Linked DNA regions of Homo sapiens: region 1 is linked to region 2. The links are contacts of gene promoters, found by promoter capture Hi-C in human tissues and cell types (Jung and others, 2019). All regions are on one chromosome and are shown on one strand. The core of a region is centred on a gene start or on the middle of the fragment in contact, and the rest is flanking DNA. Distances in the headings are between cores, read along the strand shown.

The links. The method cuts DNA at HindIII sites, captures the fragments that hold promoters and counts their contacts. A contact is called where the count stands out against the background at its distance.
Region 1: a fragment that was not itself captured here is called in contact with the fragment with the promoter of HELT in region 2 in 2 of the 25 tissues and cell types used here (bladder and liver).

Annotation. Positions count from the first base shown.
Region 1 is chr4:185,152,853-185,158,588 of GRCh38, forward strand. No RefSeq gene overlaps it. Among named protein-coding and RNA genes, the nearest start is that of SLC25A4, 12 kb to the left of the region's middle. The HindIII fragment of the contact is 5,742 bases long and covers 1,458-5,736 here.
Region 2 is chr4:185,016,509-185,021,820 of GRCh38, forward strand. HELT (helt bHLH transcription factor) reads left to right here and starts at 1,982. Exons shown (of 4, transcript NM_001300781.2): 1 at 1,982-2,447; 2 at 2,879-2,983; 3 at 3,239-3,335; 4 at 3,765-4,445. The coding sequence starts at 2,421. The coding sequence ends at 4,264. RefSeq lists enhancers at 1,232-1,812, 1,813-2,391, 2,392-2,971, 3,686-4,613, 4,614-5,312. The HindIII fragment of the contact is 22,587 bases long and covers 1-5,312 here.

The DNA.
Region 1 (5,736 bases), core at 3,079-5,578, 140 kb after region 2:
GGCTGAGGAGGGAGGATTGCTTGAGCCTGGGAGGCAGAAGTTGCAGTGAGACGAGATCGCGCCATTGCACTCCAGCCTGGGGAACAGAGTGAGACCCTGTCTCAAAAAACAAAACAAAACCCATACAAAAGATCAGTGAAACCAAGAGTTCTTTGAAAAAAATAAACAAGATTAATAGACTGCTAGCTAGATTAACAAAGAAGAAAGATCCAAATAAGTATAATCAGAAATGACAAAGATGTTGTTACAACTCATCCCACGGAAATACAAAAGATCCTCAGAGAATACTATGAGTAACTATGCACACAAAATTTAAAATCTAGAGGAAATGGATAAATTCTTGGAAACATACAATCTCCCAAGATTGAATCAGGAAGAGGCTAAAACCTTGAATAGACCAATATCAAGCTCTGAAATAGAATCCGTTACCAAAAATAAAAATTCAAAAAAAGCCCTGCAAAAGATGGATTCACAGCCAAATTCTACCAGACATACAAAAAAGAACTAGTACTAATCCTGCTGAAACTATTCCAAAAAAAAAAAAAATCAAGGAGGAAGGGATCCTCCCCAACTCATTCTATGAAGCCAGCATCAGCCTGATACCAAAATCTGGCAGAGATACAACCGAAAAAGGAATCTTCAGGCCAATATCCCTGATAAGCACAGATGCAAACATTCTCAACAAAATACTAGCAAACTGAATCCAATAGCACGTCAAAAAGTTAATTCACCAGGATCAAGCAGGCTTTATTCCTAGGATGCAAGGCTGGTTCACCATATGTAAATCAATAAATGTGATTTACCACATAAACAGAATTAAAAGGAAAAACCACATGATCATCTCAATAGACACAGGAGAAGCTTTTGGTAAAATCCAACATCCCTTCGTGATTGAAAAAACCCTCAATAGACTAGGCATGGAAGGAACATACATCAAAATAATAAGAGCCCTCAATGATGAACCCACAGCTGACATCATACTGAACAAGCAAAAGCTGGAAGCATTCCCCTTGAGAACTGAAAGAAGACAAGGAGTGCCCTCACCACTCCTATTCAACAGAATATTAGAAGTCCTGGCCAGAGCAATAAAAGGCATCCAACAGGAAAATCAAACTATCTCTCTCTCTCTATTTTATTTTTATTTTATTTTTTAGACGTAGTCTTGCTCTGTTGCCCAGGCTGCTGGAGTGCAGTAGTGCTATCTTGGTTCATTGAAACCTCTGCCTCCCAGGTTCAACTGATTCTCCTGCCTCAGCCTCCCAAGTAGCTGGGACTACAGGCGCGTGCCACCATGCCCGGCTAATTTTTTGTATTTTTAGTAGAGACAGGGTTTCACTGTGTTAGCCAGGATGGTCTTGATCTCCTGAACTCGGGATCTGCCTGCCTCAGCCTCCCAAAGTGCTTGGATTACAGGCATGAGCCACCATGCCTGGCCAAACTATCTCTCTTTACTGACAATATGATTCTATACCTAGAAAACCCTAATGACTTTGCCAAAAGGCTACTAGAACTGATGAACAATTTTAATAAGATTTCAAGATACAAAATCAACGTACAAATATAAAAATCAGTAACATTTCTATACACCAGTAACATCCAGGCTGACAGGCAAATCAAGAACACAATCCCATTTATTATAGCCACAAAGAAAATGAAATACTTAGGAATACAGCTAACCAAAGAGGTGAAAGATCTCTAGAAGGAGAACTATGAAACACTGCTGAAGGAAATCAGACATGACAAAATTAAATGAAAAATGTTCCATGCTCATGGATTGAAAGATGTTAAAATGGCCATGCTGCCCAAAGGAACTTACAGACCCAACACTATTTCTATCAAACTACCAACATCATTCTTCATGGAATTAGAAAAGGAAACCGTTCTAAAATTCATATGGAACCAAAAAAGAGCGAATATTAATAGCCAAAGCAATTCTAAGTAAAAAGAACAAAGCTGGAGGCATCACACTGGCTATAGTAGCCAAAATAGTATGGTACTGGTACAAAAACAGAGTAGAATAGAATGGAACAGAAGAGAAAACTCAGAAATAAAGCTTCACACCTACAACCATCTCATCTTCGACAAGGCCATCACCAACAAGCAGTGGGAAAAGGATTCCCTATTAAGTAAATGGTGCTGGGATGACTGGCTGGCCATATGCAGAAGATTGAAACCAGACCCATACCTTTCACCATGTACAAAAATTAACTCAAGATGGATTCGATATTTAAATGTATGACCTCAAACTATAAAAATCCCAGAAGAGGCCAGGCGCAGTGGCTCACACCTGTAATCCCAGCACTTTGGAAGGCTGAGGCGGGTGGATCACTTGAGGTCAGGAATTCAAGACCAGCCTGGCCAACATGGAGAAACTCTACTGAAAATATAAAAATCAGCTGGGTGTGGTGGCTCCCTACTCAGGAGGCTGAGGCAGGAGAATCGCTTGAACCAGGGAGGCGGAGGTTGCAGTGAGCCACTGCACTCTAGCCTAGGTGACAGAGCCAGACCCTGTCTCAAGGGGGAAAAAAAAATCCTAGAGAAAAATCTAGCAAATACCCCTCTAAACATCAGCTTTGGCAATGAATTTTTGGCTAAGTCCTCAACAGCAACCGCAACAAAACAAAAATTGACATGTGTGACCTTACTATACTAAACAGCTTCTGCACAGCACAAGCAACTATCAACAGAGTAAACTTACAGAATGGGAGAAAATATTCACAAACTATGCTTCTGACAAAGGACTAATATCCAGAATCTATAAGAAGCTTAAATCAACAAGCAAAAAATAATCCCATTAAAAAATAGGCAAAATCAGCCGGGAGTGGTGGCTCAAGCCTGTAATACCAGCACTTTGGGAGGCCGAGGCGGGCAGATCATGAGGCCAGGAGATCGAGACCATCCTGGCCAACATGGTGAAACCCCACCTCTACTAAAAATATAAAAATTAGCTGGGAGTGGTGGCACACGCCTGTAGTCCCAGCTACTCAGGAGGCTGAGGCAGGAGAATCGCTTGAACCCGGAAGCGGAGGCTGCAGTGAGCCGAGATCACACCATTGCACTCCAGACTGGGCAACAGAGCAAAACTCTGTCTCAAAAAAAAAAAAAAGGCAAAATGGTCAGACACAGTGGCTCATACCTGTAATCCCATCACTTTGGGAGGCCAAGGCAGGCAGATCACTTGAGGTCAGGAGTTTGAGACCAGCCTGGCCAACATGGTGAAACCTCATCTCTAATAAAAATACAAAAATTAGCTGGGCATGGTGGTGCAGACCTGTATTCCCAGCTACTTGGGAGGCTGAGGCAGGTGAATCGCTTGAACCCGAGAGGCGGAGCTTGCAGTGAGCTGAGATCGCACCACGGCACTCCAGTGCAGAGCACTGGGCCACAGAGCAAGACTCTGTCTTAAAAAAAAAAATGGGCAAAGGAGATGAACAGACACTTCTCAAAAGACACATAAGTGGCCAAGAAACATGAAAAAATGTTCATTGTCACTATTAGAGAAATGCAAATCAAAACCACAATGAGATACTATCTCACAGCAGTCAGAATGGCTATTATAAAAAGTCAAGAAACAACAGATGCTGAAGAGGCTGTGGAGAAAAGGGAATGCTTATACCTGTTGACGGGAATGTAAATTAGTTCAGCCACTGCGGAAAGCAGTTTGGAGATTCCTCAAAAAACTTAGGACAGAGCTACCATTTGACCCAGCAATCCCATTACTGGGTATATACCCAACGGAAAATAGAGCCTTATTCCAAAAAGACACATGCAATTGTATGTTCATCTCCATGCTATTCACAATAGCAAAGACATGGAATCAACCTAGGTGCCCTTCAGTGGTGGACTGGATAAAGAAAATGTGGTACATGTGCACCAAGAAATATGACACAGCCATAAAAAGAATGAAATCATGTCCTTTGCAGCAACATGGATGGAGTTGGAGGCCATAATCCTAAGCAAATTAACACAGAGACGGAAAATAAAATACTGCATATTCTCATTTATAAGTAGAAGCTAAACACTGAGCATGCATGGACACGAACATGGGAACAGACACTGTGGACTACTAGATAGGGAAGAGAAGGAATGGGACGTGGCTGAAAAACTACCTGTTGGTACTATGCTCATTGCCTGGGTACAATATACCCATGTAACAAACCTGCATATGTACCCTCTATATCTAAAATAAAAGTTGAAAATTTTTTAAAAAGTGTTCTAATTATTACTCAAAATAATAAAATTAAAATCACAATGAGATATATTAAATATCCACTTGAATAGTTAAAACTTTGAAAAAAATGACTGAAAGTCCAGTTGCAGTGGCTCACATATGGAATCCCTTTGGGATCCCAAGTACTTTGGGAGGCCTCGGCGGGAGGATTGGTTGAGCCCCGGCGTTCGAGACCAGCCTGGGCAACACGGTGAAACCCCATCTCTACAAAAAAATACAATAATTAGCTGGACATGGTGGCGCATGCCTGTTGTCCCAGCTACTTGGGAGGCTGACATGGGAGGATCGCTTGAGCCAGGGAGGTCAAGGCTGCAGTGAGCCATGATCGTGCCACTGCACTTCAGCCTGGGTGACAGAGCAAGACCCAGGCTCAAAAAAAAAAAAAAAAAAGAAAAAGAAAAAGAAAAAAAGACTGACAATAATAAATATTAATGAGTCTCTAGAGCAACAGAAACTTACACACTTTCGTGGAAGAATGAGCTGTTACACTCACTGTGGACAACTCTGGCATTATCTGTTAAACACAAGCACACCTCTGAGCCAGCAACTCCACTGCTAGGTGCATGCCCAGCTAAAAAGTACACACAGATCAACCAAGGCACATTTACAAAAATCCTCACATTAGCATTATTTGTAATAGTCAAAACCTGGAAACCACCCACAATATCCATCAACCACATAATAGATAAAATAAATCATGGTATAGTCAAGTACCAGAATACTACATAAAAATCAACACGAACCAATTCTAGCTACATGCAACAATATCAAAGAATCTCACAAACATAAAGATGTTGAGCTAAAAAGTCATACACGAGAACATACTCCCATTTATATGAAACTCAAAAACAGGCAAAACTACACTCAAATGTTAAAAGAGAAGACCGTAGTTAATGGTAGAATTAGATTTTTCTAGTTTGTATAGGTAACTATGTGGGAAGCAGATATATTTGCTTAATGCTGCATATGTTCTTCATAAAACAGATTCTCAGAATCAAATCAAGAACAAAGCACCCTCCAAACTTTGGAGACTAGCTATAATTCCAAAATGTATGAAATAAATGTGATGTGTGGTTTTTTGGTGAAGACTCTCATTGTAATATATATCCTGTAAGAATTTAGCACCATAGTTTTTAATCATTTTTTGGTGACTCTTCAAATTCTTTTTTTTTGAGACAGAGTCTCGCTCTGTCACCCAAGCTGGAGTGCAGTGGTGTGATCTCAGCTCACTACAACCTCTGCCTCCTGGGTTCAAGCAATTCTGCTGCCTCAGCCTCCCAAGTAGCTGGGACTACAGGCACGCACCACCATGTGTGGCTAATTTCTATATTTTTAGTAGAGACAGGGTTTTACCATATTGGCCAGGCTGGTCTCGAACTGCTGACCTCGTGATCTGCCCGCCTCGGCCTCCCAAAGTGCTAGGATTACAGGAGTGAGCCACCGTACCCGGCCTCAAATTCTTTTACTATCTTATAATTGTGGATTAGAGCCATGTGAAAAAACCC
Region 2 (5,312 bases), core at 732-3,231:
GTGAATATCCTGAAATCGACAACCCCTGAGAGGGCACTCGCGGCTGGCAGAGCAACCTGGGAGGGTGCGGATCGTGTCCAATCTGGCGTGAAGCAGAAAGGAAACATCGTGAGGAGACTAGAGGCAGGACCGAGAGGGACACCCTAGGGGTGCGAGGTGCAGACCGAGCCCTCACATCTCCCAGGCCGCAGCAGGTGGGCCGATGGCTTCCCCGAGGCCTGGCACCCCAGGCCTGGCTCTGCGCCCTGAGGCTCCCAGGTCCCACCAGCTAGAAGAGCGCCGCCTACCCACCCCTGCCAAGGTCTAACGACCCCAAGGGGGGCGCTGGGCCCTGCCATCTCCCTGCAGAACAGAGAGAATTTAGGCAGGGTTAGGGGCAGGCAGAAAAGAAGAAAAATCTGAGAAGCGGTCTCAGCTGTTCCCAGATGGAAAAGATTAGAGAGGTGAGAGTTCGGTGGCTCTAGAAAGGGCCATAAAACAAAAATCATTTTTATCGTTTCAATCTGCAAGAAAGCTCACCCCCCACCCACACCCCACAAGCTCAGAGCCCCCAGAGTATAGGATCCGAGGCAGCAAGTGTGAGCGAGGCCCGTCCTGGGGGAGGTGGCCTCTGGCCGCGGGGCCAGGTTGCCCTCAGAGGCGCAGGCGGCCAAGAGAGTTCCCAGCCGCCGCCGCCCCCCTCCTTCCCCTTGGGCCCGTCCAGCAAATTTCCTCCCTCGTTTCTGTTCGTGCCTTCCCTCCCTCCTCCTCCCCCCGATATTTTCGCTTTCTAAAACCATAAAAAAGAGATCAACTTCCCAAACTTCACAGGGCCCTTTTCAGTGACAAATATTGATGCCCAAAGTGTCTGCGCTCTCCCGCCCCCAAACGTTAAGAAAAGACGCCAGCGAAAGGGAGACATAAAAAGTTAACAATGCTGTGAAAATATGTTTGCAGAAAATAGACAATCGTTGGATTAAACGTATTCAAGTATGAAATAATGCCTTTTTGTGTCAAAACTTGGGCGATGGGCGGGTACAAAAGTTCCCTGTGGCAGCTACTTGCTCCCTTTGTGAGCCGTGCGCTTTGGCGTCTCCACTTGGGCGCATTACTCAGAGCCCTCTAAGCGCGATTGTTTCTCCCTTTCTAATGACATTTACCGGATCAAAACATGCTGTTAATTCGATCAGAAGGCTTCACCCTCCCTGACAAAGCCACAATAATTTCTCCTGAAGTTTGTTAAATTGACCAAAATTAGGCAAATGAATAGGGGTCTGTAGGCGCCCCCTCTCGCAGGTGACGTTGCATAATGCTTGCCTGGGCCAGCTGCATTCCCCCTTTTCTTCTCGGCCCACTCTTCTCCGTGTTGCCCCCCAATCCTCCCACCCGCCCCTTCACACACAAACACACACACACGCCCGCCAGTCTCTCCTCCCCCACCCTCTGGCATTATTAAAATTTAGCCCAATGAAACTATTCATACTTTTCAATGGACATTTTCGTATAGGATAATAGGCTACAAATTGAGCCTCTTCCCCCCGCGAAGAGGGAGCAGGAGGGGTGGGGAGAAAAGAAAGCCAGCGACGTGGTCAGGGAGTAGGGGGGAGCGTCGCGTGCCAAACAGCGGCGGGAGGGGCGAGGCGAGGCGAGGCGGGAGCCTCGTGTGCCAGCCGCAGCCCCACACCTGCCGGGATGTCCGGACAAATAAAGCGGTGTAAACAAAAAGGGGGGAGAAGGACGTGTCACCAAGTCGTGTGAGAAAAGCCTGGGAACAAACGGGGCGCCTCCGTCTCCAAGAGCTCTCCCTTGAACCCGGCGGAACAGCCTATTAAAGGCTTACTTAATTACTTTAATGACTCTGGACAGGCTTTAAAACGCACTCGGCGCTGGGACGGCGGGCTTGCTGGGATTTGTAAACAGGCGATCATGTGAGACTCAGCGGTGGGACTAAAAGAGGCGACACTGTTTTGTGAGGGTCCTCGCCCCCCGGTGCCCGCGGCCGCTGCGCCCCTGCGCTCCGCGCCCGCGACTGCTGCAGGCGCTTGCTCGCCCGCCGGCCCCAGTTTACCGCCTCCTTTTCCCGCCCGAGCTGTTGCCATGCAAATGTTATTCCTGGGCCGATCACGTGTCCTTTGAAGGGCCACGTGGATTAACAAAGCTGATCTGCCCCCAGCTCGCCCCCCTCGGCTGCTAATTTTTTTTTTTTCTTAACTTCTTTAAAACTGATCTTGAATGCATACATCCTCCAAACGCAGCTCCCCTAATCCTATGGAATAATTCAACTCGTGAATGCATCTGGAGCCCTAGATGACCGCTTTATAAGGCAGCCCTCGGAGTTGGGAGGCTGCAGTCTACCTGGGACACTCGAGGAGGCACACGAGGCGGAAAAGTGGACGGGTGCCCCGCGCCACCGCCTCTCCCGAGGGCGCGTACTGACCAGGATGTCAGACAAGCTCAAGGAACGCAAAGTGAGTCGGCTGAGCCCAAATGGCACTTGCGCCCTGGTGGTGGAGGCATCTGACTCACCGACCCGCCACTTGGGTGGACCGATGGCAGGGAAGTGCCCGCACGGGACTTTGAGTGTGGAGGAATCTCGAGTGGTTTGGGAAGGGGGTGGGGTAGAGAGAGGAGGGTGCTCAACCAGGTAGAAGTCCTGCCTGGAGGCTGGCGGCCACCTCCCCAAAGGCCTGGGTAGGGTGGCTGGAAGGGGAGCGCGCCAGCGCGGGCGTCAGAAGGCAGAGCTCACCTGGCCCGAGCGTGGCGGGCCAGGAGTCCCTTCCTAGAGCGAATCTGAGCAGTGTGCGCGGCTGGAGAGGCGGCTTGCACCCAGCTGCTAGAGCCGCGCCTTTGACGACTTCCCGGGCAAAGCCATCCTAAACATACAACCCTCTCTTCGCAGAGAACCCCCGTTTCTCATAAAGTGATAGAAAAGCGGAGGAGGGACAGGATCAACCGCTGCTTGAACGAGCTGGGCAAGACAGTGCCCATGGCCTTGGCGAAGCAGGTAACGTTGGCGACCCGGAGCCGGGTGCCAGGCGTTGGGAGGCCTCTGCGGCCACTCTGCGGAGACGCCCGAGCCCGCGGACACAGAGGACCTCACTTGCGGGCCCCTCCCAGGCGGGGGGCCTGAGCGCAGGGCGAACCTCAGGAGGCTCTGGCGCAGATCCGCAGCCGCGTCCGCTCGCTGGTCCTCTCCAGCGCCACAGTGCCCGACCAGCAGGCGCTGGGCCGCTGCGAGGGGCCCTTCCTCCTTTTGCAGAGTTCCGGGAAGCTGGAGAAGGCGGAGATCCTCGAGATGACCGTTCAGTACCTGAGAGCACTGCACTCCGCTGATTTTCCCCGGGGAAGGGAAAAAGGTGGGCACAGGTTAGGGAATGGGACGCCTGGGCCAGGCGCCTGCGCCACCCAGAGACCCTGGGGCTGGGAGGGGAGTGACTGAGTGTTCCCGAGAGCTCTACTAGAGCTCCACTCTCCAGGAGGGCAGGGGTCCTGCGAAGGCGCCTCTCCCTGCTCGGCGACAGCAAGGCGGCGAGGGAGAACTGGTTCCCAGGGAGGCTGGTTCCACCTCCTTCTCCCGGGTGGGGTGGGTGGGGTCAGGCTCTCAGGGAAAGAGGGCGTTTGCGCGTGCCTCGCCAGTCTCTAAGACTGCGCAGAGGAGAGGGCGGGCCTCAAATGGGAACTTTGGCCAGAAAATGTGGTGGGAGGTGCCCTGCACCCGCTTTGGGCTCGCGTGGGGAAGGGGCACTCAGGGTGTGTCCGTCCTACGGGCTTTCTCGTTCCTCCAGCAGAACTTCTAGCGGAGTTTGCCAACTACTTCCACTATGGCTACCACGAGTGCATGAAGAACCTGGTGCATTACCTCACCACGGTGGAGCGGATGGAGACCAAGGACACGAAGTACGCGCGCATCCTCGCCTTCTTGCAGTCCAAGGCCCGCCTGGGCGCGGAGCCCGCCTTTCCGCCGCTGGGTTCGCTCCCGGAGCCGGATTTCTCCTATCAGCTGCACCCTGCGGGGCCCGAATTCGCTGGTCACAGCCCGGGCGAGGCCGCTGTGTTCCCGCAGGGCTCTGGTGCCGGGCCTTTCCCCTGGCCGCCTGGCGCGGCCCGCAGCCCCGCGCTGCCCTACCTGCCCAGCGCGCCAGTGCCGCTCGCTAGCCCAGCGCAGCAGCACAGCCCCTTCCTGACACCGGTGCAGGGCCTGGACCGGCATTACCTCAACCTGATCGGCCACGCGCACCCCAACGCCCTTAACCTGCACACGCCCCAGCACCCCCCGGTGCTCTGACGCCCACTCGCCCGCCAGATTTCTCCTCGCTTTGGGCGCTTTTAGGAGAAATGCTGTATATATTGTACACATAATGTGTAAATATTGTACCCCAAAAATCTGGGCTGGGGGAGGCAAAGAGCGAATGAGTCTTCTGAAGGATCTCCCCCTGGTAATAAACGTTTTCTGATAAAGACCCAAAGAGAGGGATTTATGTATTACCTTCTGCTCATCCACACCCGTCCCCTCCGCGGTGCCCAGGGCGCAAGGCTGACAGGGTTCAAGGTAACAGCCCTCAGTAACTTGGTGAGGGGCCCGCTGTGGAGTCTGAGGGAGGGGGACGTTAAATGGAGGTTCAGGCAGATATTCTAGGCATCGCTTAAGGGCGGGATTCGCGGCTTCCTGCACCCGCCCCATCTTGAGCATTAGCCTCAGAGAAACAGGGGAGGCGAAGAACACTGCCCTTGGCTCTCAGGAAAATGCAAATTGAAGGACCTGCCCCAAACTGACTTAGGCGGACCGTTGCCAGCTGCGACCCGGGCGCCCGTCCTACCCGGAGCCAAGTGCCCGACGCGCGCGCACCGCACGCCCGCGGGTCTGGAATGCGGCGAAACCCGGGCCAGCGGGGCGCGTGGCTGAGTTTACAGAATTAAAAATCCTCTAAAAAATACCGGAACCAAGTACAGTTCTGAGTTGCGGATTAGAAACAACATCGTTGATGACAACTGCTCAGCGCCAGAGGCTTCCGAGAAGCTGGCGTTGCCTTTTGCGCACAGAGCAGGCCAGCTTCGGGGGCGCTGGGCGTCTCGGCGAGAGGTCGGCACCTGCCGGGTTGGGAGACGCCCCTTCCCCACCCCTTAGGGGATTGTTCCCTACACGCCATCCTTTACCATTCGGACACTGGTGCAGGATGGAGACCCTGGGGTCTCCGTTTAAGTTCTCAGGCTTGGAGAGAAAAGTCCTCCTTATCCTTTCCCCAGTGAGATTTTTTTTTTTATCTCGCCCCACCCAGAACGTGGTGAGGAAAGTTTGGAATCCAGGAGAGACTTGGCTATTGGTCTTTTAAGGG